7 separate regions of the Homo sapiens genome follow, and regions 2, 3, 4, 5, 6 and 7 are each linked to region 1. The links are contacts of gene promoters, found by promoter capture Hi-C in human tissues and cell types (Jung and others, 2019). All regions are on one chromosome and are shown on one strand. Each heading gives the region's core, a stretch centred on a gene start or on the middle of the fragment in contact. The rest is flanking DNA. Distances are from core to core; before and after follow the strand shown.

Region 1 (4,327 bases), core at 1,828-4,327:
ACACACTAGTCGGGTAACTTTCAGCAACTTTCTTAATACTTCTCAGTCTCTGTCTCCTCCCCTGTAAGAATAGTGCAAATCTCAGAGTTGTAAGAATTAAATACAATCACATATGCAAAGTGCTTAAAACAGCACCTGGTGTGCATGTGTGTGTACATACACATAAGCCACTTCATTACTATGAGGACGAGGGCAATGAGGTTGATAATGATACATGGCTTGATGTATGCTTACTCATTATCAGGCAAGGTAGGTATCAAAAAAGTGTTCAATCTAAGGCCAGGCGGGGTGGCTCATGTCTGTAATCCTAGCACTTTGGGAGGCCAAAGCGGGCGGATCACTTGAGGCCAGGAGTTACAGACCAGCCTCACCAACATGACAAAAACCCATCCCTACTAAAAATACAGAAGTTAGCCAGGTGTGGTGTTGAGCACCTGTAATCCCAGCTACTCCAGAGGCTGAGACAAGATAGCGCCACTGCACTCCAGCCTGGGCGACAGAGTGAGGCTCTGTCTCAAAATACATACATACATACATACATAAAAAATGCTCAATCTCTTCTTAAATTCCTAACATAAACTACTTCTAAAGGCATTTAATAGACAACTGATTCTTCCCAAGACTTACAATATGATTTTGCATATAAAAAGCTGAAAGGAAAGCAAAGAAGGTAGATAGCTATTTTTCTGAAATTCATTAACTAATAAATGGTTGCTGCTTTGCATATCAAAAAACATGCATAATCATGGCTAATCATGATGAAAAGGGAGATTTTAAAAGGAAAATAATCAGCGTTTTAAAACGGCCGGGCGGGCGTGGTGGTCACTCCTGTAATCCCAGCACTTTGGGAGGCGGAGGCAGTTGGATTGCTTGAGCTCAGGGGTTTGAGACCAGCCTGGGCAACATGGCGAAACCTCCTCTCTACAAAAAATACAAAAATTAGCCGGGCGTAGTGGCTTTCGCCTCTAGTCCCAGCTACTCTAGGGGACGAGGTGGGAGGATGGCTTGAGCCCAGGAGGCAGACGTTGCAGTGAGCTGAGATAGTGCCACTGCACTCCAGCCTTGGCGATACGGCCAGACCTTGTCTCAAAAAAATAAATAAATAAGATGCAACTATGTAACAGTATTTAGATTTAAAATAAATACTAAAAAAAAAACATGCAACTAGTGATAATATTTAGCTTCTACTGTGTACATACAAGATACTATGCCTACTTTAATATACTTTAATGAAGGAAAAAACATGCCTCTACCATAACTTAAGCCCACTTTTTCTATGAAATACAGTACTTCTATCTCCCCTTCAAATTAACTAAAGTCAACAAGTACACAAACTGGCATTCGTACGTACTGCGTGCTGATTTCAACTGCTTTATTCTTTATTGTTTTACAGGTTAGTCTTTTTTCATTAACTAAATTGTAGCCTCCTTGCAAAAGAGCAGCCATTTATTTCCTATTCTTCCCACCATGTCCACCACTACAGCCCCTCGCTCCTACCCCCCATCCTAGCACGGCACTTAAATAATAAAAGGTCCTGGCAGCGAAACTCAAAACTGTTTATTTCTGACCTTTAGCAGTAAACAATGTTAGAAAGGCAGATGGAACCACGTTTATCAAAACACAGAACACACGATGTTTACATTTCCTAAAGCGCGTCTTTTAGTTAAAATTAAAGGATGAGAGTTAAAACGAGTTACAAAAGACAGCTGGTGTTTGAAAGAAAAACACTGGAAGTAATAAAAACGGAGTGAAAAGGCTGATGTTGGGATTAAAAGAAAACATTTTTTTAATACAGCTGCAAATCAGTCATTGTTTTCTGAGAGGCTAGGTTCATCTCCAGGATTTTCTTCTAGGAGCTCAACCAATGGCCACCTTTACTGAGTTAACCAGTCTCCAGGCAAGCAGCCCTTGCTGATTGGCTCAAAGATGTCGAGTAGAAAAAGCAGCCAATCCTGCCTTCAAGCCAGAACTGTGCCATGGAGACATTACAACCACTGCATGGCGAGAATGTGTACAAACCTGTCCGTGCCACAAATATCAGATCCTAGTTACAAAGACTGCCGCCGAAAGGAAGAGCCTTTGAAGCCAACACTGACACTGACCTGTCATCTACATTCTATTACTCTAGCTCTCTTTCGGAGGGAAAAAAAAAACTATTTTAACCAAAAGCGCATGAGAGATAAACTGTGCCCCCGCTAAGATGACTCACTCTATTGAGGATGAATTTCCAAACGGACGGCTTAGAGAGAGTCCCGATGAGAGAGGGGCTCTAGAAGGGTCCCATTGAGGGACAAAGTTGCAGATGGGGGCAGGGGAGGCGGGACGAGGGCCAAAGACACACAAATGCCGGGGAGGGGAAAGTCTCCCCGCAGTCTCCAAAATCCGAACGTGTGAGTGGCTGTGTGTCTGGACTTGAACTGAGTAAATAAACGGCTCTGCTAGGACTATGTGCTCAGGAAGGTGGCCTGAAGTTCCCAGAAGGCTCCGCCTGGCAAACACCTAAGGCGCCTGGAGGGGCGCAAGGTCAGGTCCCGGCGGGAACAGATCTGGGAGGAAACCTCGGGGGGTCGAGAGGGGTGTGTCTGGGGCCTGGAGGCCCGCCAGGCACTCGGAGGCCAAGGAAGCGGCCGCGGCCCCCGCCTTCGCCCGGCCTCGGGCTGAGCGCCAGGGCCCGCCTCTCGCCGACGCCTCACTTCCCTTCCGTCCGGGCAGCCGGGCCCGCGGGTCAGATCGGAGGCGGCCCGCGCCGGGCCCCACATTCAGGGCTTGGGGGTTCATTCGCCGCGCCGCCCGCCGCTGCTTCAGGCCCTCCGCTTCGGCTCGGAGCCCCGGGACCCCTAACCTCCAGGGCCCTCACCTTGGACCCGCCTCCCTGCCTCCCACCCGCCGCCTTTACCTGCTTCTGGAGCGGGCAGAGGGCGTCGAAGCCGGTGCCGCGTCGTCGAACGCACAACGCGGCGCCGCAGGTCCGCAGCCCTTTCCCGCCGGCGCCACTGCGCTCTCCCGCGCCGCGCAAGGCTAGCAAGCAGCTGCGGCCGCGGGGGAGACACGGCGAGCGCGCCCGGCGGGGAGACACTGCCGCTCTCCGTCCGGCCGGGGAAGAGCAGCCGCGCAGAAGCCCGCCGCGAGAGGGCGGGTGGGCGGCCGGGTGGGGAGGGGTCTCGAGGCGCCGGCAATGGCTGCCACGTCGCCCAGGTGGATCGCCGCCCACCGCCCCCCCCCAAGCCCGCCGGCTGTCCGCCACGACCTCTGCTTCGTCCCCGAGCTCCGCCTCGGCGCGGCGGCCCGGGGGACTTGAGCCCGCGGGCGCTCCCACCTCTCCCGCTCCCGCTCTCCCGTTGGAGAGCAAGCCCTGCCCGGCCGGTTCGGCTGCTTCCGGTCGCCCACCCCCCAAGTCTCGCCCGAGAGCGGGCCGTGGTCCCCACTTTTCTTATCAGGGGGTCCCTGGAGGAGCAAGCCCTTCTTCGAGTGTCGGGTTCTGCTTGGGGGGAAGGCGGGAGCTGTTTGGCGCTGGGGAACATTGCAACAGGCCCGGAATTTTTGCCAAAATAAGCGGCGCGGTAAACCACAGCTGTTTCTAGCCCTCGGCACTCTCCCGAGCCCCAAAAAACAAAACAAACACAAGGTCGGCCTCGCGAGGTGAGGGGAGAAAGGAAAGCAGAGCTGGGACGAGCCCTGACGCGCGCGGGGTCCAGGCTGCAAGTTGGGAGGGACGGCGAGGCGAGCGACCGGCCTCGGCATTGCCTGACTAGGGCCGTGGCCGCTGCGGCGGGCACGGGAACCCGCCTTCTCGCGCGCGGCCCTCCCGCGGGGGGCTTCCGGGCGCGCGGCCTCGGAGCCCCACGGGGAGACAAAGGGGTAGGCGACTGCCACGGGGTGGAGGGAGGCTGCCCAGCCCCATCGGCCCTGCCAGCGTGCGGTCTGAGCTCGGGGAATGTGTGCGCCTTAGCCGGTGGAACCGCAGCCGCTGGCCTTTGCCCCCAGTTCGAGCTTGAGTTTTCGGATGCCAAGAAAAAGCAAAGACGTGCTCTTCCCTCTTGCGACCGCTGTAGTATGAGTCCGTCCCCAAGCCTGCACCATTTTTTTTCTCTCAACTCTGCTTTCCCTGGTTTATTTGTTCTGGGTTCTGATGTGAAATGTTTAGTGTTTTCAGGGTACGCAAATTTTTCACCTTTGCTTTCTGGTTGGTGGTGGTGGTGGTGATGGTAGTGGTGGTGGTTTTGCCTGTTTTTTACTTCCTCCGTCCCCTCCCTTTGCGGTTACTTTTCATTCCACTTGCAGTGGTTTTTCCCAGAATAGAGAAGCGAAATAACCTCATGACAAAGTG
Region 2 (3,909 bases), core at 207-2,706, 360 kb before region 1:
TCTCTTGTGCATAAGAGACAACAGCCAAAATAATCTACTTAGAAATTACCCAACGCTTTAGTGCAAACAGCCGTGCCACTGAGTGCTCAGTCAAGCCTGCCTTCGGCGAGCATGTCTTTTTTTGGTTCCTCATTTTCCTTGTGTTTGGGAATAATGTTAAAGTCTTAGATGATGATCATTCAGCAGGAGATAAGAATAATGGCTGACAGTAACTTACCATATATGCCAATGGTCAAGTACTTTACGTGGATATTTTTTAAACTTTTTATTAAAAGAGTAACATAGATACAGTAGTGTACATACCATAGAGAGCTTGATGAATTTTCACAAACTGAGCACATCCATGTAACCAACATCCAGAGGAGTAACATGACCAGCATTCCAGAAGGTTTTGCATGGCCCTTTCCAGTGACCACCTCAACAAGGGAAACAGTCAAATCTACAGCATAGATTAGTTTTGCATGCATCATGTTTTCACACTTGAGCTTGCTACTCTTAATACCCCCATTTTACAGATAAAAAGCAAGGAGGCAGAAGGAGGTTTCATAACTTCTCCCGAGACCACGTCGCTGGTAAGTGAAACAGTGTAGATCTGAACCTGGAATATCTAACTCTAGAGCTGGGGCTGGGGTTGGAGGGATTATAGATCACCCATTTTGTAAGGATGTAGAGTCATTTGTTTGTTCTAGAAGTCACACCGATCTCCTAATAGAGTCACTTTATCTTAAAGGACATTGGAGCAAGTGGAAAGGAAAGTTTAAAAATTACACACATTGCAGAATATAGATGCAAAACTTTCTGGAGTCTGAAGGTCTTATAGGGTCACCTTTCTACATTTTTTTTTCCTGGTGGCCTCCAAGCCTCTTACATTCTAGCATGTCTTTTATCAAATGTTGCTCTCAGAAAGGGAAGAAATAAACAAATTCATTCCCAAGGAGGTGAGTTATGTGGGGCTTTTTGTCTTTTGTTTGTTTGTTTTGAGACAGGGTCTTGCTCTGTCACCCGGGCTGGAGTGCAGTGGCGCAATCCCTGCTCACTGCAGCCTCGATTTCCCAGGCTCAGGTGATCTTTCCACCTCAGCCTCCTGAGTAGCTGGCACTACAGGCATGTGCCACCACATCCAGCTAATTTTTTGTATTTTTTGTAGAGATGGGGTTTCGCCATGTTGCTCAAGATGGTCTCGAATTCCTGTGCTCAAGCGATCCTCCCATCTCATCCTACCAAAGTGCTGGGATTACAGGCATGAGACACTGTGCCTGGCCTCCTGAGTTATGTGGTTTTCATTGAACAAATCCCTTGTCAACGAAGCTAAGGAAGAAAGCCCTAACTTTGGAAGTTAAGGCCATAGCCAGTCAAATAAAGAGAATAACTTCAAGAGTCAGGAGGTTCTCCACCAGCTCCAGGACACTGTACCACAAAAGCAGCCCAATCTAGGGAGGCTAGCCCAAGCCTTCTGAGTTGCCGAGGGGCCAAATAATTAGACCCTCTGGACAGTTCAATGAATAATTTTAACAACTAGTGTCTCAAATAAAAGATATACGATATAAAATGCTGGAAAGACATGCCAGTCAAGGATAATCAGCTAATCCTTGAATAGCATTTCACTGGCCACAGAAGCCTTTCTAAAACTCTATCTCCCTGATCTTCATGACAATCCTGTAAGATAGTTACAGATGACATTCTCCCCTTCCCATTCATTTAACAAATGTTTTGTTTTTCGAGCATTTATGTGCCAGGCTTTGTGATGGGGCCTAAAGACAAAATGGTGAACATGATCTCCATTTTATCAAGGGAGAAATTGAGGCCTAAAAAGGATAAGTTACTTGCTCAAGATACAATGATACTCAAAATTCAATTTTTTTTTTTTTTTTTTGAGACAGTCTTGCTTTGTCTCCCAGGCTGGAGTGCAGTACACTCTCCGCTCACTGCAACATCTGCCTCCCGGGTTCCAGCAATTCTCCTGCCTCAGCCTCACAAGCAGCTGGGACTATAAGCCTGCGCCACCACGGCCGGCTAATTTTTTGCATTTTTAGTAGAGACAGAGTTTCACTGTGTTGGCCAGGCTGGTCTCGGACTCCTGACCTCGTGATCTACCCACCTCAGCCTCCCAAAGTGCTGGGATTACAGGCGCGAGCCACTGCGCCCGGCCTCTTGCTTCTCTTTCATTTGCCTTCCACACTGGGGCCACAGTGATCTTCCTAAAACCAAATCTGAGTGTCACTTATGTCACATATCTTTAGAAGTATCCCACTGCTGACTGTACCAAGTCCAGCTTAAAACACACAAGGCCCTTTATAAACTGGCCTCTGTGCACGTCTTCAGAATTATATCCTGCCAGTTGCATATGGGCAGAACGGATATCCACTATGCACTGGTATGTCCATTTTGGTCACTTACTGCCCATGTTCCTCTGACTGACCAGTGCCTGTCCTGGTTACTGAAAACTTTGATTTTGTCTTTCACCTGCTTACCATTCTCTCCCATTATTCCGAAATATTAATATTTGCAGTTCCTTTAAAAAGCTCCCTTCCCGGCCGAGCGCGGTGGCTCACGCCTATAATCCCAGCACTTTGGGAGGCCAAGGCGGGCAGATCATGAGGTCAGGAGATCGAGACCATCCTGGCTAACACTGTGAAACCCCGTCTCTACTAAAAATACAAAAAATTAGCCAGGCGTGGTGGCGGGCACCTACAGTCCCAACTACTCTGGAAGCTGAGGCAGGAGAATGGCATGAACCTGGGAGGCAGAACTTGCAGTAAGCTGAGATCTGGCCACTGCACTCCAGCCTGGGCGACAGAGTGAGACTCCATCTCGAAAAAAAAAAAAAAAAAGCTCCCTTCCCTCTAGGAGTGTCCACCCAACAAACTCCCACTTATTCATCAAGTATTTATTGAGCACCTACTATATATACACTTGGGCTAGGCATTGAAGATAGAGAACTAAAAGTCCTGTCCTCAAGAAGGTACTGGTCTAGTGAGAACACAGACAAGTTAAAAGATCGTGATAAACTAGTGGGAGAAGTGTTAGGACAGAGATAAATCCTGATGCTTGGGTAGCACAGAGAAGCGATACTTAACCCCAGACTTGGGGTTCAGGGAGCTGCTCCTGGATCGGGGACATCTCAGTTGAGTTCTGAAGGCTCAGACAGGGCAGAAGGAATCTTGATAAAGGGAGCAATGGATCTGTAAAGAACATAAAATAAGCAAAGCCTAGAATGGGAGGTGAGGCTAGTGATATGAGGCTGAAGAGAGTTGCTGGACGGTGTGTGGGGAGGGAGCTGGTGCACGCTGTGCCCAGTTGGCAACTCAGTGTAACATTCTATCCTGACCACAGTGAGGAGTCAATGATTGATTTTTTTTTTTTTAAGACAACATTTCTCTCCTGTCACCCAGGCTGGAGTGCAGTGGCATGATCTTCCCTCACTGCAACCTCCGCCTCCTGGGTTCAAGCTATTCTCCTGCCTCAGCCTCCCAAGTAGCTGGTATTAGAGGTGCATGCCACCATGCCTGGCTAATTTTTGTATTTTTAGTAGAGACTAGGTTTCACCATGTTGGCCAGGCTGGTCTCAAACTCCTGACCTCAGGTCCGGAGTTTGCCTCTGCCTCCCAAAGTGCTGAGATTACAGGTATGAGCCACTGTGCCCAGCAAATAATTGATTTTCAACAGAAGAGTGGCTTGATCAGAATTGCACTTTAGAGAGAGTGTTCTGGCCAGAGCATGAGACTAGACTGGAGGGGAAAAATGCTGAAGGGAGGGGGACCAGTTAGGAGGCTGTTGCAGAAAGCAGGTGAGAAATGATGGTGGGCTGGGCTAAGGTGATAGCAAACGGACAGGAAATGGACTCAAGAGGTGCTAAGTTAAAGTCGATCAGTGCCGGTGACTAGTAAGTGATAGCGCAAAGGGAGGTGG
Region 3 (3,878 bases), core at 1,176-3,675, 420 kb before region 1:
TCCATCGCAGCTAAAGTTTTAGTGTTTGATTTTTTTCGAATGATTTCAATTATTTCCATATTGCTTTCAAATTTCTTTAGAATATCTACTTTTATTTTTCAAAAAATAAGAGCTCCCTTTTCAAAGTGGTAAAATAATATGTTGAACAGGTAACTAGGCTTAAATAAGAACTGAACCACAAGGTCTTAAGAAGAAAAATTTTCAAAGATTTTTAGACTCCACATAACTCATTTAGTTACTTGCTAGCTTATCAAGCTCCTGAAAAATTTCCGTTTCTTGGCTGATTATAAAATATGTCTAAGGTTTATTCCAATTTTAGGAATACTCAATTCTTGAAATAAGGAACATTCTTCAGGAAAGAGGTGTTTTACTTTTTAAATCACAAAGTAAACAAATACAGAGAATACATATTTTGAAGTGTAGGATTTTGTGATTGCCTCTGTTTGTAACCTGATGCAATTGTAAATAAGAATGCAGGCTAGGCCAGGTGCTTACACCTGTAATCCCGGCACTTTGGAAAGCAGAGGCAGGTGGATTACCTGAGGTCAGGAGTTCAAGACGAGCCTGGCCAACATGGTGAAACCCCACCTCTACTAAAAATACAAAAATTAGCCGGGTGTGGTAGCATGAACATGTAGTCCCAGCTACTTGGGAGGCTGAGGTGGGAAAATGGCTTGAACCGGGGAGGCGGAGGTTGTAGTGAGCTGAGATCGCGCCACTGTGCTCCAGCTTGGGTGACACAGTGAGACCCTGTCTCAAAAAATTAAAAAAATAAGATAAAAAAGGGAATGCAGGCTAGTTATACCTCCTCCAGGAAGCTTTCCCCATGGACTCTGATCTGTCTTAGCAATACTCTTCACCTGATTGTGGTGGCTCCCATTGTCTGGATAGCACATGCTGTTCCATTTCTGTGTATTCTATATGTTGTAATTATCAGACATTTAATGATCTCTCCAAGAGGATTATTAGCTCCCAGTTAATAGAAATCACATCATGGCCAGGTACGGTGGCTCACACCTGTAATTTAATAGAAACCACATCATGGCCGGGCGCAGTGGCACATGCCTGTAATCACAAGTACTTTGGGAGGTTGAGGCCGGTGGATCGCCTGAGGTCAGGAGTTCGAGACCAGCGTGGCCAACATGGCGAAACTCCATCTCTATTAAAAATACAAAAAGGCTGGATGCGGAGGCTCACGCCTGTAATCCCAACACTTTGGAAGACCAAGGCGGGCGGATCGCTTGAGGTCAGGAGTTTAAGACCAGCCTGGCCAACATGGCAAAACCCTGTCTCTACCAAAAATATAAAAATTAGCTGGGCATGGTGGCGCACACCTGTAATCCCGGTTACTCTAGAGGCTGAAGCAGGAGAATTGCTTGAACCTGGGAGGCAGAGGTTGCAGTGAGCTGAGATCATGCCACTGCACTCTAGCCTGGGCAACAGAGCGAGACTCCGTCAAAAAAAAAAAAAGCCACATCATGATCCAGGTCTTTGACTGCACTTCCCCAGGGCTTGAGTACATCTCAAAAATAAAAATAAAAATAATAATAATAATAATAATAATAATAATAATAATAATAATACAAAAATTAGCAGGGAATGGTGACATTCACCTGTAGTCCCAGCTACTCTGGAGGCTGAGGCAGGAGAATTGCTTGAACCTGGGAGGCAGATGTTACAGTGAGCCAAGGTCACGCCGCTGCACTCCAGCCTGGGTGACAGAGTGAGACTCCATCTCAAAAAAAAAAAAAAGAAAGAAACAACATATGATCCAGGTCTTTGACTGCACTTCCCCAGGGCTTGAGTACATCTCGGGATATTATAGAAAGTGCTACTTAAACACCAGTTGAAATGGAAGAGCATAGTACTTGATAAATCCAGAATGTTAGGGGATTTTTGTGGCAATTTTGAGGAAATTATTAAAATATCATTTGATTATTAAAGAGTAAAACTCACAAAATACTTGGCAAAACCACACACTTCCTGAGCCCTTGTTAACCTGACTGCCTTGTTCCTCCTGGCTCAGGAGGAAATATATCTACTTTTCATATTATGACAATGTAGCTGGCTTTTCCTTAGCACAAGTGGAAGAAAGGGCTATAATGTTACACATGATATGTGACTTGGTAATAGGTGTCTTCTCTCCACCAGCATTCAATATGTATTCTGAACTTTCTCTTTTTAAGATTAAGAAGTCTGTTAAAACTACCACAGAATCTATTAGGTAAATACTAATAATTACTTAGCTTATCAGATGCTACATTTTGCTGTGTTAGAGGGACAGACAGAAAGGGATCGCCATAAAATCTAGCAGGTTTCTAAGAATTAATGAAGAGTGCTGCCTCGGGTAGAGGAAGGGCTTAGAGAGAAAATGCAAAGAGAATTCTCTTTAGATTCAAATTAGATTTTGTGGCTTTCTTAACTTATGGTTTCATTCATTGAACATTAAAGGGTTTCCTACTTAGCTCCAAAGATGCCATCTCAAAGTTCCAAAGTTTTTCTGGGTTAGTACAGAAGTTCCTGTCCCTGGCAGGCTGACAGAGCAGCAAGGTGAAACATGGGTAGGTAGGTAGAGAGGTAGCTAATTAGGAGGAAAGAAAGAAGATTATCTACTTAGCTTGAGGCGGTAAAGTGTGATCTCTAAGAGCCAGAATGCCTGGGTTTGAATCCTCACTCCACTACTTATTTGCTGGCTGTTGGTCTTGGACCAATTACTTTATTTCTTGTTTTCTCATCTATAAAATGGAGATGAGGCTGAGCGCGTGGCTCACGGCTGTAATCCTAACACTTTGGGAGGCCGAGGCAGATGGATCACCTGAGGTCAGGAGTTCGAGACCAGCCTGACCAACGTAGTGAAACCCTGTTTCTACTGAAAATACAAAAATTAGTCAGGCATGGTGGCGGACACCTGTAATCCCAGCTACTCAGGAGGCTGAGGCAGGAGAATCACTTGAACCTGAGAGGTGGAGGTCGCAGTGAGCTGAGATCACAGAATTGCATTCCAGCCTGGGCAACAAGAATAAGACTCCGTCTCAAAAAAAAAAAAAAAAAAATGGAGATGATACTAGTACCTGCCTCAACCTATGTATGGGGGTTGCCTGTGTTAATATATGCGAAACACTTAGAACAGTGCCTGGTGAAGGACAAGGGCTGTATGTAGGAGTTAGCTATAGTTATTTTATTACAGGTGGATGTGATGAATAATTTTAATCTTTAAAACAGTTGTACCTCTGGGCACAATGGTGCAGCTGTAGTCCCAGCTACTTAGGAGGCTGAGGGAGGAGGATCGCTTGAGCCCAGGAGTTCTAGACCAGCCTGAGCAACATAGCTAGACTCTATCACAAAACAAAAATGAGTAAATAAACCAAGGATGCCAATTGAGAAGGTACCATTTTATTTATATTTATATATTTATTTATTTATTTATTTATTTTTGAGACAGGATCTCACTCTGTCATCCAGTCTGGAATGCAGTGATGCAGTCATGGCTCACTGCAGCCTCAACCTCCCAGGCTCAAACAAGCAATTTTCCCGAGTAGCTGGGACCACAGGCATATGTCACCATGCCCTGCTAATTTTTTTATTATTTGTAGAGATGGGGTCTCACTATGTTCCCCAGGCTGGTCCTGAACTCCTGGGCTCAAGCAATCCTCCTGTCCTGGCCTCCCAAAGTGCTGGGATTATAGGCATGAGCCACTGTATCCAGCCTACCATTTTAAATTTTAAAAGGACAGCCCACAGATCCTTCCTAATGTCCAGATAAGGAACACTCATTTCAGATATGACAATGTCCATTGTTTAATTCTTCCTTCTCTGTGACTGTTGATGCTATAATAGGATAATAGACAAATTAACCGAAAGAAAATACTATGGTGCTT
Region 4 (3,875 bases), core at 875-3,374, 380 kb after region 1:
CCTCCCAAAGTGCTGGGATTACAGGCGTGAGCCACCGCGCCTGGCCGTCAAATCTTACTTTTAAACCTTACTATCTTAGTGTGAATATCAGGGTTCCCAAGGCTCAGCTGAATCTCTGTCCTTCCCACTGTTTCACTGCTTAACCATTTCTTGAATTCTAAGAGCCTATAGAATCCTGTTTTGCCTGCAATAATTTGAATTGGATTTATACCATTTACAACCACTAATGTATCCATTATCTAAAATGGCAATCAGTTAATCTGCTAAGCTAAATTGCTTAAAATAACTAGTGGCTTTGAATTAAATAATTGAAATATAATTTCATGGCCAGAAGTTTTTTTCAGAAATAATTTAGTCCTGGCCAGGTCCAGTGGCTCATATCTGTAATCCCAACAATTTGAGAAGCTCAGGCAGAAGGACCCCTTGAGGCCAGGAGTTCAAGACCAGCCTGGGCAATATAGGGAGAGTCCATCTCTCCAAAAACTTGAAAAAAATTAGCTAGGCATCATCTGGCGGGTGCCCCTCTGGGATGAAGCTTCCAGAGGAAGGAACAGGCAGCAATCTTTGCTGTTCTGCAGCCTCCACTGGTGACACCCAGGCAAACAGGGTCTGGAGTGGACTTCCAGCAAACTCCAGCAGGCCTACAGCAGAAGGGCCTGACTGTTAGAAGGAAAACTAACAAACAGAAAGGAATAGCATCAACATCAACTAAAAGGATGTTGTCCACACAGAAACCCCATCAAAGGTCACCAACATCAAAGACCAAATGTAGATAAATTCACGAAGACGAGGAAACACCAGTGCAAAAAGGCTAAAAATTCCAAAAACCAGAACGCCCCTTCTCCTCCAAAGGATCACAAGTCCTCACCAGCAAGGGTATAAAACTGGACAGGGAATGAGTTTGACTAATTGACAGAAGTAGGCTTCAGAAGGTGGGTAATAACAAACTCCTCTGAGCTAAAGGAGCATGTTCTAACCCAATGCAAGGAAGCTAAGAACCTTGGAAAAAGGTTAGAGGAATTGCTAACTAGAATAACCAGTTTAGAGAAGAACATAAATGACCTGATGGAGCTGAAAAACACAGCACGAGAACTTCGTGAAGCATACATGAGTATCAATAGCTGAACTGATTAAGTGGAAGAAAGGATAATCAGAGACTGAAGATCAACTTAATGAAATAAAGTGTGAAGACAAGATCAGAGAAAAAAGAATGAAAAGGAATGAACAAAACCTCTAAGAAATAGGGGACTATGTGAAAAGACCACACCTACGTTTGATTGGTGTACCTGAAAGTGACAGGGAGAATGGAACCAAGTTGGAAAAGACTCTTCAGGATATCATCCAGGAGAACTTCCCCAACCTAGCAAAACAGGCCAACATTCAAATTCAGGAAATACAGAGAACGCCACAAAGATACTCCTTGAGAAAAGCAACCCCAAGACACATAATCATCAGATTCACCAAGGTTGAAATGAAGGAAAAAATGTTGAGGGCAGCCAGAAAGTTCAGGCTACCCACAAAGGGAAGCCCATCAGACTAACAGCAGATCTCTCTGCAGAAACCCTACAAGCCAGAAGAGAGTAGGGGCCAATATTCAACATTCTTAAAGAAAGTTATTTTCAACCCAGAATTTAACATCCAGCCAAACTAAGCCTCATAAGCAAAGGAGAAATAAAATCCATTACAGACAGGCAAATGCTGAGAGGTTTTGTCACCAGCAGGCCTGCCTTACAAGAGCTCCTGAAGGAAGCACTAAATATGGAAAGGAAAAACCGGTACCAGCCACTGCAAAAACAAGTTCTGAAATTGAGGCAGTAATAAGTATCCTACCAACCAAAAAAAGTCCAGGACCAGATGGATTCACAGCCAAATTCTACCAGAGGTACAAAGAGAAGCTGGTACTGTTCCTTGTGAAACTATTCCAAACAATAGATAAACAGGGACTCTTCCCTAACTCATCTTATGAGGCCAGCATCATCCTGATACCAAAACCTGACAAAGACACAACAAAAAAAGAAAATTTCAGGCCAATATCTCTGAAGAACATTGATGTGAAAATCCTCAATAAAATACTGGCAAACCAAATCCAGCAGCACATCAAAAAGCTTATCCACCATGATCAAGTCGGTTTCATCCCTGGGATACAAGTCTGGTTCACCATACACAAATCAATAAAAGTAATCCATCACATAAACAGAAGCAATGACAACAACCACAGGATTATCTCAATAGATGCAGAAAAGGCCTTTGATAAAAATTCGACAACCCTTCATGCTAAAAACCCTCAATAAACTAGGTATTGATGGAATGTATCTCAAAATAATAAGAGCTATTTATGACAAACCCACGGCCAATATCATATGGAATGAGCAAAAGCTGGAAGCATTCCCTTTGATAACTGGCACAAGACAAGGATGCCCTCTCTCACCACTACTATTCAACATAGTATTGGAAGTTCTGGCCAGGGCAATCAGGCAAGAGAGAGAAAGAAAGGGTATTCAAATAGGAAGACAGGAAGTCAAATTGTCCCTGTTTGCAGATGACATGATTGTATGTTTAGAAAACCCCACTGTTTCAGCCCAAAATCTCCTTAAGCTGATAAGCAACTTCAGCAAAGTCTCAGGATACAAAATCAATGTGCAAAAATCACAAGCATTCCTATATACCAATAATAGAGAGCTAAATCATGAGTGAACTCCCATTCACAATTGCCAAAAAGAGAATAAAATACTTAGGAATCCAACTTACAAGGGATGTGAAGGACCTCTTCAAGGAGAACTACAAACCACTGCTCAAGGAAATAAGAGAGGACACAAACAAATGGAAAAACAGTCAATGTTCATAGATAGGAAGAATCAATATCGTGAAAATGGCCATACTGCTCAATTTATAGATTCAATACTATCTGCATCAAGCTACCATAGACTTTCTTCACAGAATTAGAAAAAACTACTTTAAATTTCATATGGAACCAAAAAAGATCCTGTACAGCCAAGATAATCCTAAGTAAAAGAACAAAGCTGGAGGCATCACGCTACCTGACTTCAAACTTACTACAAGGCTACAGTAACCAAAACAGCATGGTACTGGTACCAAAACAGATATATAGACCAATGGAACAAAACAGAGGCCTCAGAAATAATGCCACACATCTACAACCATCTGATCTTTGACAAATCTGACAAAAACAAGCAACGGGGAAAGGATTCCCTATTTAATAAATGGTGTTGGGAAAACTGGCTAGCCATATGCAGAAAACTGAAACTGGACCCCTTCCTTATACCTTATACAAAAATTAACTCAAGATGGATTAAAGACTTAAACATAAGACCTAAAACCATAAAAACCCTAGAAGAAAACCTAGGCAATACCATTCAGGACATAGGCATGGGCAAAGACTTCATGACTAAAACACCAAAGCAATGGCAACACAAGCCAAAATTGACAAATGGGATCTAATTAAACTAAAGAGCTTCTGCAGAGCAAACGAAACTATCATCAGAGTGAACAGGCAACCTACAGAATGGGAGAAAATTTTTGCAATCTATCCATTTGACAAAGGACTAATATCCAGAATCTACAAAGAACTTAAACAAATTTATAAGAAAAAAAACAAACAACCCCATCAAAAAGTGGGCGAAAGATATGAACAGACACTTCTCCAAAGAAGACATTTATGTGGCCAACAAACAGATGAAAAAAAGCTCATCATCACTGGTCATTAGAGAAATGCAAATCAAAACCACAAGGAAATACCAGTTAGAATGGCAATCATTAGGGCTGGGCATGGTGGCTCATGCCTGTAATCCCAGCACTTTGGGAGGCTGAGGCGGGCAGATCACAAGGTCAGGAGATCAAGACCATCCTGGCTAATA
Region 5 (4,165 bases), core at 240-2,739, 340 kb before region 1:
GTTTCTATAGGCCTCAGTTTTGGTACCTACCTCTTATGTTTATTGTGAGGGTTACATGAGATAACATAGATCCAGCATCCAACATATGGCCTGATATATAGCAAGTTGTGAGTAAATGGTAGCTGTTTTTATGACTGCCATCATTTTTAAGGAAAACCCAAAAGAGGCCTGGCACCATGGCTCACACCTGTAATCCCAGCATTTTGGAAGGCGGAGGATCACTTGAGCCCAGGAGTTCGAGTCCAGCCTGGGCAACGTGGCGAGATGCCCTCTCTACCAAAAATACAAAAATTAGCCCAGATGTGGATGTGTGTGCCTGTAGTCCCAGGGACTCGGGAGGCTGATGTGGAAGGATCGCTTGAGCCCAGGAAGTCGAAGCTGCAGTGAGCCATGATTGTGCCACTGTACTCTGACCTGGGCAACAAAGTGAGACCTTGTCTCAAAAAAAAGAAAAAAAAATTGGATAACTCTAAAATTCATACTTAAAAAATAAAACCCCAAAAAAATAGTATAGGTTTGCCAGGCAGTGGCTCACACCCATAATCCCAGCACTTTGGGAGGCCGAGGAAGGTGAATCACCTGAGCTTAGGAGTTCAAGATCAGCCTGGGCAACACAGTGAAACTTCATCTCTACCAAAAGTACAAAAAAAAAAAAAAAAAAAAAAATCCAGGCATAGTGGCCTGCGCCTGTAGTCCCAGCTACTCAGGAGACCGAGGTAGGAGATCACTTGAGCCTGGAAGGCAGAGGTTGCAGTAGCCAAGATGGTGCCACTGCACTCCAACCTGGATGACAGAGTAAGATGCCATATCAAAAAAAAAAAAAAAAAAAAGAAGAGAAAAGAAAAGGAAAGAAAAGAAATAGTACAGGGAAGGCAGAGTGGGAAAGCCTGCAAGAAGATCCTCTGGTATATAAAATAAACAAAAGATCAGGCCGGGCGTGGGGTCTCATGCCTATAATTCCAGCACTTTGGGAGGCCGAGAAGGGCGGATCACTTGAGGTCAGGAGTTTGAGACCAGCCTGGCCAACATGGTAAAACCCCGTCTCTACTAAAAATACAAAAAAATAGCTAGGCACTTTGGGAGCCCGAGGCGGGCGGATCACGAGGTCCGGAGATCGAGACCATCTGGCTAACACGGTGAAACCCCATCTCTACTAAAAATACAAAAAATTAGCCAAGCGTGGTGGTGGGCGCCTGTAGTCCCAGCTACTCAGGACGCTGAGGCAGGAGAATCGCTTGAACCCAGGAGGCGGAGGTCGCGGTGAGCCGAGATCGTGCCACTGCACTCCAGCCTTGGCAATGGAGCAAGACTCCGTCTCAAAAAATAAATAAATAAATAAATAAATAAAATAAAATAAAGATTGCTTTGTATGGCTTTTTTCCTCCTTCAGAGTAAAACCAAGGAGCAAAGATATGATTCTAAAGTTGCAGTCCATATTGTCAAAAAGGAATATAATGTAACCAGGATCATCTGAGTTTTACTGCGCAAATGACAAGGACATTTGACCCCCATACAGTATGGTAAGATCAAATGCTGAAAGCCCGGCCCCTCTACAGTGCTCCTGTGACCCCAGAGAAGTCAGACTCCTAAAGCTGAGTGATTCAGGGCAATGCATGCATAACGAGTGGGAGGACTCTGGGTAGAGCGAAAAATAGAAAATTTCCATTTTTATTGTGGCTTTCTAACTAATATGTCAAAATGGACAGAGGATAGAAATACTGCAGACCAGAATCAGAAGCAGGAGAGCCAGAGAAGTCCAGAACCCAAGAAGTAGAGTTTTAGAAAAAAGACACTCTGGTTAGAATCATGATCACTGTGCTTCAGCAGCTCAAGAAATCTTTGTAGTCAAAAGATTTCCTTTCTCTTCCCAGGGGAGGAATCCGAGGCTCCTAAGGTCAGATTACTTGCCCACATCCACAGTTAACAAATCTGGGCCTGTTAGCCTCAATGTATCACTCTTTTCATATCTAGGGATTTCAGAGAAGACCCTTAGAGGGAAGAGTCAAGAAAATGGGGGTGGGGAGAGGGTCATTTCTATCCAAGTCCCAAGATCTGTGATTGGCTTAGCTGGCAAACTGCAGCTTCATGAAAGGAAACTTGACTCCAAGAACTGCAGCCAGGAGAAGCCCTGGGGATGAAGGCCAAATGTTAAAACAACAAGAGATTGGAGTTGAGCAATGGATGGCAGGACTCCAGGCACAGGAAGGGAGCGAATGCACCTGCTTAGGTACTGAAGCATGACGGGACTTGGACAGGCCCTACCCCCACAGGAGAGACACTGGAGAGGGCAAAGCAAGAGGGCTCGACTGGAAAAACTCACGGGGATTGTAAGCACAATCCAAGTTTCTGGCACAATCATGGGATTTTTTTTTCCTTGCTACCTAGGATCTAAATCCCCCTTCTTAATTTTGAGGAATCTCCCACTGTGAGTGACAGTATTCTTCTGGCACCAGGATCTCAAGAGTTAACCAGAAGTTCGGGAACCCAGTGTAATGATGCCTCATCTTCTGCTTGTTAGCCAGCGCATGCATAGCACAGAAGCTAAAAGGCAGAAATTCTTGCCCTTCTTGTCCATGGCTGCCAAAGAGATCACACAGGTCTCAGGAGACCACCACCCAGGACTTTGCACCATGCAAAGTCATAGACATAGTGATATTGAATCCATGGTGGCAGCTGAAGTGGTCAAGCATTAAGATCAGTGTCCAAGGATGGTGGCCACAGTTGGCCATGGTGGCAGCATCCTGGCTGCATTGTGTCTACTAGCTTCTGAGCCTGCCTCTCATGCCTTCTTACTTACTCTGTGATCAACCTTTCAGTAAATACCCCTCTGCCATTGCTGGCCAGCATCCAACAGATTTCTGGCTGATACCAGCACCATTCCTCACCTGTAACAGGAAAAGCTGAGGAGTTTTAGAGGCCAGTACTCACCTTGATTGTGAATCTTACTAAGGCAGAAGATGTAAGAATCCACACCATGGAAGATTTTTCTTTAAAATTCCCAACAGAGCATATGCTGGGAAACACATTTGAAAAACCACCTGTCGACCAGGCACGGTGGCTCATGCCTATAGTCCCAGCACACTGGGAGGCTGAGGCGGGCAGATCACCTGAGGTCAGGAGTTCGAGACCAGCCTGGCCAACATGGTGAAACCCCCGTCTCCACTAAAAATACAAAAATTAGCCGGGCATGGTGGCTCACGCCTGTAATCCCAGCTACTCGGGAGGCTGAGGCAGGAGAATCGCTTCAATCTGGGAGGTGGAGGTTGCAGTGAGCCGGGATCGTGCCATTGCACTCCAGCCTGGGCAATATGAGTGAAACTCAGAAAAAAAAAAAAGAAAGAAGAGAAAAACCACCTGTCTTACTTGCCTCCTATGATGCCGGGAGAGAGATTTGGCAGGACAGGCCATAGTCCTGCTGCTGCTGCTCTCCATTAGGGACAGACCCCTGTTTCAGGTCAGAGGTTTAGGAACTTAACCAGGATCACACAGGTAGCCAAGTGGCAGAGTGCTTGGAAGCAGATGGATTCGCTTGGGCTTTGAAATATCGAGGAGAAAAGGGGCTTTGGTTCCCTTTAAAAAGAGACATTAGAGGCTAAAAGTCTGGCGTGGATTATAAAATTGGCACTGAGGCTTCCATAGTTCCAAAAACAATGAAGTACTGATTGAAAGAGAGAGGGAGTTTGAGAGCTGTTTCCTGATTGGAAAAAGGAAGGCAACCCTGGGATTTGTGAGCCACGCTGAGAAAGTCTGACAGCCGTTCTCTCTCCCTGCTTTCCTCTGCTGATGTATACAGAGGAAGAAGGGAAGTACACATGGTCAGTCTGAGGAAATACCCTTTGATCTTCTTCTGGGTTCCTATTTTCTTTTTCTTTTTCTTTTTTTGGGGGGGCGGGTGGGGGGACGGAGTCTCACTCTTGTCGCCCAGGCTGGACTGCAATGGTGTGATCTCAGTTCACTGCAACCTCTGCCTCCTGGGTTCAAGCAATTCTTCTGCCTCAGCCTCCTGAGTAGCTGGGATTACAGACACCCACCACCACACCCGCCTAACTGTGGTATTTTTAGTAGAGACGCGGTTTCACCATGTTGGCCAGACTGGTTTTGAACTCCTGAGCTCGGGTGATCCATCTGCCTTGGCCTTCCAAAGAGCTGGGATTACAGGCATGAG
Region 6 (4,273 bases), core at 295-2,794, 460 kb before region 1:
TAAAATAAAATTAATACTGTGTTACCAAATACATTCTTAAGGAAAATTGGCTTTAAAAAAAGGTAGAACAACTTCAAATGCCTGGTGGTAAAAAAATGCCACAATTACTAGTATACTTTGGTGGCACTGCCTCTCACACGGCTAGAAGTTTTAGCCACCATTGCCTTTTTATCACTAGTCCGTGTCAATGCCGTGTAAAAGGGAAATATGTTAGTATTTTTAAGAACCGTGGAGCCTCTCAGCATTCCAGGGACCTCACTTTGAGAACTGCTGGTCTAGCGGTTGATGTCCCCATGATAGGCAGCACCGGACAGTGTAGACTGATCTCCCCTCTCCTATTGCAGCCCCTCCTTCCTTGGGCAGTTTGGGAAAGCACCAAGAGCCCCTGGGCCCTTTCTTACACATCTGTTGAGGTTGGCTAGGTGATGAGCAGTTTCTGAGGTCACATTCATGGTACTCTTTGAAGTCCTCTAAAGGGGTTTGAGTATGATTCATGGGCATTCCTAAACCTTTGGAAGATTCCGGAAGATTTAGAAGCTCCAGATTAAATCTCTACCTCTCCTTTCTCCTCTACTATTTCCTAGTGTCCAAGGGAGCTCAAAACCCCTTTCAGAAGCTGAAACTATTCTGCAGGCCAAATATATACTAGCCTCAAAGATATTCAGGCTAGACATGGGCCCCTACAGCTGAAAGATGCTTTGGAATAGGCCTGGGGCGATAGAGCAGCACTCCCCAGAGACACATTATTCTGCCCTATTGCAGCTCTGCAGTTGAAAATTCTAGGGGTATACCTGCATGCTGGCATACCAAAACCAATAGAGAAAAAACTCCACTTAGAATCACATGGCTGGAGGTGGAAAATGCTATTATAAAACATTTCTATTGCACAGAAGGCACAGTCCTTTCTCAGGGACACATAATTTAGTCTCTGAGCAGCATGAGACTTTTATGTGCCAAGTGCCGTATAGAACACGGGGAATTCTAATACAACCTACAGGGTTTAAAGTCAAATGACAAATTTGTGATCACAGAAAAAAAAGAACATAAAAGGCTTACCCAAAGTGGGAGAAGCCATATTTTTTGGTTGGATTTTATGGTCAAAGGAGGGCTTCAATATGAAATAGAGTTCATCAGTAGATTTCAAAGTGAGCAGTAGAGATGATCTTAATTAGGGATAAGAGGGTAGGGTGGGCTGGGCACGGTGGCTTATGCCTGTAATCCCAGCACTTTGGGAGGCCAAGGCAGGTGGATCATGAAGTCAAGAGATCGAGACCATCCTGGCCAACATGGTGAAACCCCGTCTCTACTAAAAATACAAAAATTAGCTGGGCATGGTGGCGGGCGCCTGTTGTCCCATCTACTCGGGAGGCTTAGGCAGGAGAATTGCTTGAACCTGGGAGATGGAGGTTGCAGTGAGCCAAGATTGAGCCACTATACTCCAGCCTGGGCAACAATAGCGAGACTCCGTCTCAAAAAAAAAAAAAAAAAAAAAAAAAAAGGAGGGTAGGGTAGAGGGAAGTGGGAGAGGAGGGTGAGGAGACCAAGGTAAAGGATTGAAGGATGCTGGGTGTGGTGGCTCACACCTGTAATCTCAGCACTTTGGGAGGCCGAGGTGGGCAGATCACCTGAGGTTGGGAGTTCGAGACCAGCCTGACCAACATGCAGAAACCCCATCTCTACTAAAAATACAAAATTAGCCGGGTGTGGTGGTGCACACCTGTAATCCCAGCTACTCTGGAGGCTGAGGCAGGAGATTCGCTTGAACCCGGGAGGCAGAGATTGCAGTGAGCCAAGATCGTTCCATTGCACTCCAGCCTGGGCAACAAGAGTGAAACTCCATCTCAAAAAAAAAAAAAAAAAGATTGAAGGAGAAAAACAGTTGAACTGGTTCTGGTCAGAGGTTGGCAGAAAATACATGCAAGTGATTTTTATTTTTTATTTTTTTTAAGGACAAGATCTCACTCTGTTACCCAGGGCAGAGTACAGTGGTGTGATCTTGGCTCACTGTAGCCTCAACTACAGTGAGGAGTCCCGGCCCAAGCAATCCTCCCACCTCAGCCTCCCAAGTAGCTTGGACCACAGGCGCATGCCACCATGCCTGGATCATTTTTTATATTTTTTTTTTTATAGAAACAAGGGTCTCACTATGTTGCCTAGGCTGGTCTTAAACTCTGGGCTCAAGTGATCCTCCTGCCTGGGACTCCCAGAGTGCTGGGACTACCGGTGTGAGCCACCACTCCTGGGCTGGATCTTGATTTAGACCAGGCTTGTCCAACCTGTGGCATGTCCAGGATGGCTTTGAATGTGGCCCAACACAAATTCATAAGCTTCCTTTGGGATTTTTTTTTTTTTAAAGCTCATAAGCTATCATTAGTATCAGTGTATTTTATGTGTGGCCCAAGACAATTCTTCTTCCAGTGTGACCCAGGGAAGCCAAAAGATTGGACACCCCTGATTGGGCAGTAGGGTGTGTAGGCTACAGTGTGCATGTGCATGAGAGTGTGACTCAGGCAAAGAGAAGGGCTCCAACTGGGACCCGCTGAGGTTCTCAGATCTGTCATTATTAGCTGTGTATCCTTGGGCAGCCTCTCTGAGTCTGTCCTCTCATCTGTCTGTTTAATTAAATGAGGTGTCATATATCAAATACTTGATTATTGTAGGCACTTGAGATGCAATGTTTGCAGCTGGGCGTGGTTGCTCACGCCTGTAGTCCCAGCACTTTGGGAGGCCGAGGCAGGTGGATCACTTGAGCTCAGGAGTTCGAGACCAGCCTGACCAACACGGTGAAACCCCATCTCTAAAAAAATAGCAAAATTAGCCGGGTGTGGTGGTGTGTGCCTGTAGTCCCAGCTACTCAGGAGGCTGAGGCAGGAGAATTGCTTGAACCCGGGAGGTGGAGATTACAGTGAGCCATGATGCCATGATGGCACCACTGCACTCCAACATGGGTGACAGAGTGAGACTTCATCTCAAAAAAAAAAAAAAAAAAAAAAAAAAAAGAAAAGAAAAGAAACAATGCTTGTTTTGTGGTGTGATTTGATGGCTATCTTATTGGCTATCTGGACTTCATAATCCCATTTTCTCATCCTCATTGAAATACAAAATAAATAAATAAATAAAAGCAAAGCAACTACCTTAAAACCCCAAATTCTGGCATTTGTTTATATAGTGATCCTTCTGTATCCATGGGGAATTGGTTGCAGGCCCCCCAGATTTTGGATGCTCGAGTCCTCTATATAAAATGGTGCAGTATTTGCATATGACCTACACATATCTTCCCATATACTTTGAGTCATCTCTAGATGACTTAGAATACCTAATCCAATGGAAATGCTAGTAAGTAGTTGTTATGCTGTATTGTTTAGGGAATAATGACAAGAAAAAGAAGTCTATGTGTTTAGTACAGACACAGCCGTCCTTTTCACATTTTTACATTTTTAATTTTTTGTGGGCACATAGTAGTATATATATTTATGGGGTACATGAGATTTTTGAATATTCTTGATCTGTGGTTGGTTGACTTCAGGGATGCGGAACCCACAGACACTGAGGGCTGACTGTACGTAGAATATATGCCTTTGAAACACTGTTTTGGATTCAGATTTTGTGTCTTCAAACTTTTTTTTATCAAAATTTAAGTATATTTCTGAACAGTAAGGCATTGGACTCCATGCCAGGGGGTGCAGAGGTGAGTGTTCTGGTGATCTAGAAAGGAGTTGAGGGTCGGGCACAGTGGCTTATGCCTGTAATCCCAGCACTTTGGGAGGCCGAAGCGGGTGGATCATTTGAGATCAGGAATTCAAGACCAGCCTGACCAACATGGTGAAACCCTGTCTCTACTAAAACTACAAAGAAATTAGCCAGGTGTGGTGGTGCATGACTATAATCCCAGCTACGCAGGAGGCTGGGGCAGGAGAATCTCTTGAATCTGGGAGGTGGAGGTTGCAGTGAGCTGAGATTGTGCCACTGCACTCCAGCCTGGGCAAGAGGGCGAGACTCCATGAAAAAAGAAAGAAGGAAGGAAGGAAGGAGGGAAGGAAGGAAGGTGGGGAGGGAGGGAGGGATGGCATTTGAGGACACGCAAATACCCTAATGCAGAGTGGAATGAGACAGGTGACCCAAGAGGGGTGCTCATGGGAAAGACTTCTGTGATAGGAGTAATTAATCCCTAGCATGCAGGGGATTTACTCCTCTTGGGTTTGCATAAAGAAGGGCACGCAAGGGACAAGAGGTCAAGTGAGATAAACCCTAACATTAGAATAAGGGGCTGGCC
Region 7 (3,928 bases), core at 1,205-3,704, 420 kb after region 1:
GTTTTCCTGTAATTTACTTTATAAAGCAAGTACTGGGTGTGCACAGTGACCCATGCCTGTAACCCCAACACTTTGGGAGGCTGAAACAGGAGGATCACTTCAGACCAGGAGTTCAAGACCAGTCTCAACAATATAGCAAGATCCTATAACAAATTAAAAAAAAAAGTAGCTCACTGTGGTGGCATGTGTCTGTAGTCTTAGTTATTCAGGAGGCTAAAATGGGAGGATCACTTCAGCCCAGGAGTTTGAGGCTGTAGTGAGCTATGATTGCACCACTGCATTCCAGCCTGTGCAACAGAGCAAGACCCTATCTCAAAAAAAAAAAAAAAAAGGCCAGGCGCGGTGGCTCACGCCTGTAATCCCAGCACTTTGGGAGGCCGAGACGGGCGGATCACGAGGTCAGGAGCTTGAGACCATCCTGGCTAACATGGTGAAACCCCGTCTCTACTAAAAATACAAAAAATTAGCCAGGCGTGGTGGCGGCGGGTGCCTGTAGTCCCAGCTACTCGGGAGGCTGAGGTAGGAGAATGGCGTGAACCCAGGAGGCGGAGCTTGCAGTGAGCCGAGATCGAGCCACTGCACTCCAGCCTGGGCAACAGAGCAAGACTCCATCTCAAAAACAAACAAAAACAACAACAACAAAAACAACAACAACAAAACCAAGTACTGAGAATTTTGCAACAACCAGTACAATTCTAGTTTTGTACCATACTGTTCTCTTAAACACAGCTGTGTTCTCAAACACATACGTGCCCATGGGTGCACTCAAGCATAACAGATTTTGTTTGGAGTTGCACAAATTAAAGACCCTTTGGTACAGTGTCAGCTCATTAGGGCACCAGATTCCATCTCAAACTCTGAATTTGAGTAAGCAGAGTTCAAGGTTGCAGATTAAGGGCCAAAATCTTTATTCTTTGTATCTACTTTGCAATTAGTTAACTGGGAAACACTTCAAGTTTTACCAGAAACCTTTAATTTTCTAGAAACCTTTACCTGTGTTCAATATCCACTTTAATTAAAAAGCTCTTGTAAATGATACTTATTTGGGGAAGGTGATTCAGCTTGTCGAGGGGTAATTAACCAAATTGCTGAGGTGGAAGTCTGGGTAAGTGAAAAGGTCATCAAATCTGAGTAAGAAAGCTTGCAGCTTTCACCTCTCCGTCAAGACTGGCAGAGAGGCACTTTCGTAAAATCTTTGTTTGGGATTCACTTTTACTTCGCCACTTGTCCCATTTTAATTAAAGCTTGCCAACTGAAGGACCTAAGAAAACAATATAGTTCTGCATTTTGCCAAATTGGGAAATTTCCAGGGCCCCCAAAATTTAGCGGGGAGACTCAGAGACTAGAATGGGAGAATAGGAAGCACCAACTTGCTCTAAAAGGAAGATTGGGTAAAAGCAGCACTCTTATTCCAGCTCTACAACCAAAGCAACTAAGACTTGGGCTGGCTGGCTGCCTAGCCACAGCATTCCCTCCTACTTCCCCATTATCTCCTGACCAGCAAGTCATCTTTGGTCACATATCTTTAATTATTTAGTTTGAGACAAAGTCTCACTATCACCCAGGCTGGAGTGCAGTGGCGCGATCTCGGCTCACTGCAACCTCCGCCTCCCGGGTTCAAGCGATTCTTCCACCTCAGCCTCCCGAGTAGCTGGGACTACAAGCGGGCACCACCATGCCCGGCTAATTTTTGTGTTTTTAGTGGAGATGGGGTTTCACCATGTCGGCCAGGCTGGTCTCGGACTCCTGACCTCAAGTGATCCGCCCACCTCTGCCTCCTGAAGTGCTGGGATTACAGGCATGAGTCACCAAGCCCGACTACATATTCCTTTTATTAATATTCCTGTTGAACTTAATTTTGGTCGTTTCCGGTGCAAAAATGTTAAGGTAAAGGGAATCAATAACAGCCACATTTGATGTATTTTTGTAATCCCCATCTCCAATTTCCATCCGGGCCTGAGTAACCAAAAACACTTTACAGGGGTAGACTGTCTCAACAGACATCAATTTGTAACCGCGTCTACCTCTACCACGGTATTCTAAAGACTCCGTCGAGGAAAACCTTTAGCTCGGGCAACGGGAGACACATTACAGAACACTGTCCGCCGCCGAAGAAACAGACGATACGCGGGAGAGTTGAACAGACACCCGGCCTCGCCCCGATTGCTTCACAGTCCTCAGCCACGCCCCTCCCAACCGGAACTACATCCCCCGCACTCCGCGCCCCCACGCACAGCGTGTCGTAGGCGTCCGAAGCCGCAGGCTCCCGCCCGGCTTCCCGGGACGCACAGGGCAGGCGCTGGGCATGCGCATGCTCGGCAGGCGGGGCAGCTGGAGTCTCCAGGCGCTGCAATCTGTTGCGCCGCCGCCCGCGGGAGCCGGCAGATCCGGGTCTTGTGGCTAAGAGTGACGTGGTCACTCGAATCAAAACAGAGGAGGGGGAGGAAGCCGGCGGCCAGAAACGGCAGTGGCAGCAGCGTCCGGAGCAGCCGCAGCCTTCTGGAAGCTCCAGGCGGTCTTTCTGCCGAGCCTCGGTCCCGGCCCCCATCCTCCCCGCCCCATCGGTTGTTGTCTGGGCGGGTGAGTGTCTCCCCCTCTCCCACCAGCGTTTGCTGGCTCACCCTCCCCTCGCCCCAGTTTTTCCTGGGGGCTCCTCAGGCTCTCGGGGACTGCGGCGGCTGCGGCAGAACAGGGCTGTTTCTCGGGCTTGGCGTTTCCTCGGCCGGGCTGGCGATTCTGCACCGGGAGAAGCTCCGCTGCTGCCGAGCCCGCGTCCCCCGCGAAGAGCCTGCAATTGGGTATTCTCTGCAGGATGTCAGAGTCGGGGCTTTGCAGGCAAGGGCAAGGTAGCCACGGGTGGTTTTATTTTTAGGATCAGATTGTCGACGGGTGGAGGCGTATCATGGAGTAAAAAGAGAGTCGTAGCTGGAAGGAAAAACTCACAAATCCTGAAATCCACACTATCTTGTTTACCGTCTCCCTCAGCCCTTTCTGGGTACGGTGAAGTCACTAGGATGCGTCCTTTGTTGTGATAAGTGAGACGAGAAAGCTGACACCCTGAAAGCGAGAGCTTTTTAGCTCCTATTGTGTCGCGAATTTAAAGGATCCCCTTTTTCTGTTTGCTCAGTAAGTGGAACCAAGGCTGACAGTAAAGAGGTAGCAGCACCCTTTATTGGAACTAATAGTGTGTGATAAACTGGTTACCGGCTCTACCCGAAGTCCCGTGTTGCTGTTTAAAGGCAGACTTCACCAAAGTGGCTGTTTATATGTGCCAGGATTTTAGCCGAGATGGTTTGCTAGCTGTAGAGAGTCGGTAGGATGTTTTCAGTTGCCCCAGTTGGCAAAACCGAGGCTGTGGCCTTAATAGAATGTGTTACTTTTGCATCGAGAGAGTCGGATGAGCTTCACACACGTAATAGCTACATTTGCAGAAGAGACCTTCCAGTTTGTGTGTGTTATTGTCAGAAACAGCAGCTGTACATATTATAACTTGGAAAGCGTAAGACCTTCCAGGTGTTGGAGTGTTGGGACGCTTAGGAGGCATTCTTGCTGCCCAGCGCTGTGGAGGTTGCAGGAGGCTTTGCATTCCCTTCCACTTAGGGTGGCTGGCCGCGCAGATTCCTTTAGTGTAGCCTGCTCCGAACTTGCCGCTCTCCGCGGCCGTCGACAGCACTGCGACCAGAAAACCAAACCTTTTTGTCCTAACTTTTTTTTTTTTTCCAACGTGGTGTTTAAGAACACCGCTTCACCCCCGAGAACTCATTAATTGAGGTGTTTCAGTGGTTAACAGCAAGAAAGAACAACAGTACGTGATAGTTAATTGCTCCTTATCAAACCCAGGAAGAGTTATGAGTTTAGATTATTTCCTTGAAGGGTATGTCCTTGTGGTATAACATGAACCCCTTAACGAATCTTTTCTCCAGTGTTT

What was found. Contacts are between HindIII fragments. The study calls those that stand out against the background at their distance.
Region 2: a contact is called between a fragment that was not itself captured here and the fragment with the promoter of N4BP2 in region 1, in 1 of the 25 tissues and cell types used here (lymphoblastoid cells).
Region 3: a contact is called between a fragment that was not itself captured here and the fragment with the promoter of N4BP2 in region 1, in 2 of the 25 tissues and cell types used here (mesenchymal stem cells and stomach).
Region 4: a contact is called between a fragment that was not itself captured here and the fragment with the promoter of N4BP2 in region 1, in 1 of the 25 tissues and cell types used here (hippocampus).
Region 5: a contact is called between a fragment that was not itself captured here and the fragment with the promoter of N4BP2 in region 1, in 1 of the 25 tissues and cell types used here (spleen).
Region 6: a fragment that was not itself captured here is called in contact with the fragment with the promoter of N4BP2 in region 1 in 1 of the 25 tissues and cell types used here (bladder).
Region 7: a contact is called between the fragment with the promoter of SMIM14 here and the fragment with the promoter of N4BP2 in region 1, in 2 of the 25 tissues and cell types used here (H1 embryonic stem cells and aorta).

The regions. Positions count from the first base shown.
Region 1 is chr4:40,055,600-40,059,926 of GRCh38, reverse strand. It overlaps N4BP2 (NEDD4 binding protein 2), which reads right to left and starts at 3,077. Exons shown (of 18, transcript NM_018177.6): 1 at 2,897-3,077. It also overlaps the pseudogene LOC344967. RefSeq lists enhancers at 2,016-2,115, 2,216-2,265 and silencers at 2,456-2,805, 2,856-3,315, 3,656-3,865. The HindIII fragment of the contact is 26,276 bases long and covers 1-4,327 here.
Region 2 is chr4:40,414,312-40,418,220 of GRCh38, reverse strand. No RefSeq gene overlaps it. Among named protein-coding and RNA genes, the nearest start is that of RBM47-AS1, 9.9 kb to the left of the region's middle. The HindIII fragment of the contact is 9,189 bases long and covers 1-3,909 here.
Region 3 is chr4:40,479,151-40,483,028 of GRCh38, reverse strand. All of the region lies in intron 2 of RBM47 (RNA binding motif protein 47), which reads left to right. Among named protein-coding and RNA genes, the nearest start is that of MIR4802, 21 kb to the left of the region's middle. RefSeq lists an enhancer at 1-37. The HindIII fragment of the contact is 5,969 bases long and covers 1-3,878 here.
Region 4 is chr4:39,671,065-39,674,939 of GRCh38, reverse strand. No RefSeq gene overlaps it. Among named protein-coding and RNA genes, the nearest start is that of UBE2K, 25 kb to the left of the region's middle. The HindIII fragment of the contact is 4,059 bases long and covers 95-3,875 here.
Region 5 is chr4:40,394,035-40,398,199 of GRCh38, reverse strand. No RefSeq gene overlaps it. Among named protein-coding and RNA genes, the nearest start is that of RBM47-AS1, 30 kb to the left of the region's middle. The HindIII fragment of the contact is 3,608 bases long and covers 1-3,293 here.
Region 6 is chr4:40,516,885-40,521,157 of GRCh38, reverse strand. All of the region lies in intron 2 of RBM47 (RNA binding motif protein 47), which reads left to right. Among named protein-coding and RNA genes, the nearest start is that of MIR4802, 17 kb to the right of the region's middle. The HindIII fragment of the contact is 4,481 bases long and covers 1-3,784 here.
Region 7 is chr4:39,637,391-39,641,318 of GRCh38, reverse strand. It overlaps SMIM14 (small integral membrane protein 14), which reads left to right and starts at 2,454. Exons shown (of 5, transcript NM_174921.3): 1 at 2,454-2,580. It overlaps SMIM14-DT (SMIM14 divergent transcript), which reads right to left and starts at 2,179. Exons shown (of 6, transcript NR_183845.1): 1 at 2,025-2,179. RefSeq lists enhancers at 1-23, 1,795-2,512. The HindIII fragment of the contact is 11,439 bases long and covers 1-3,928 here.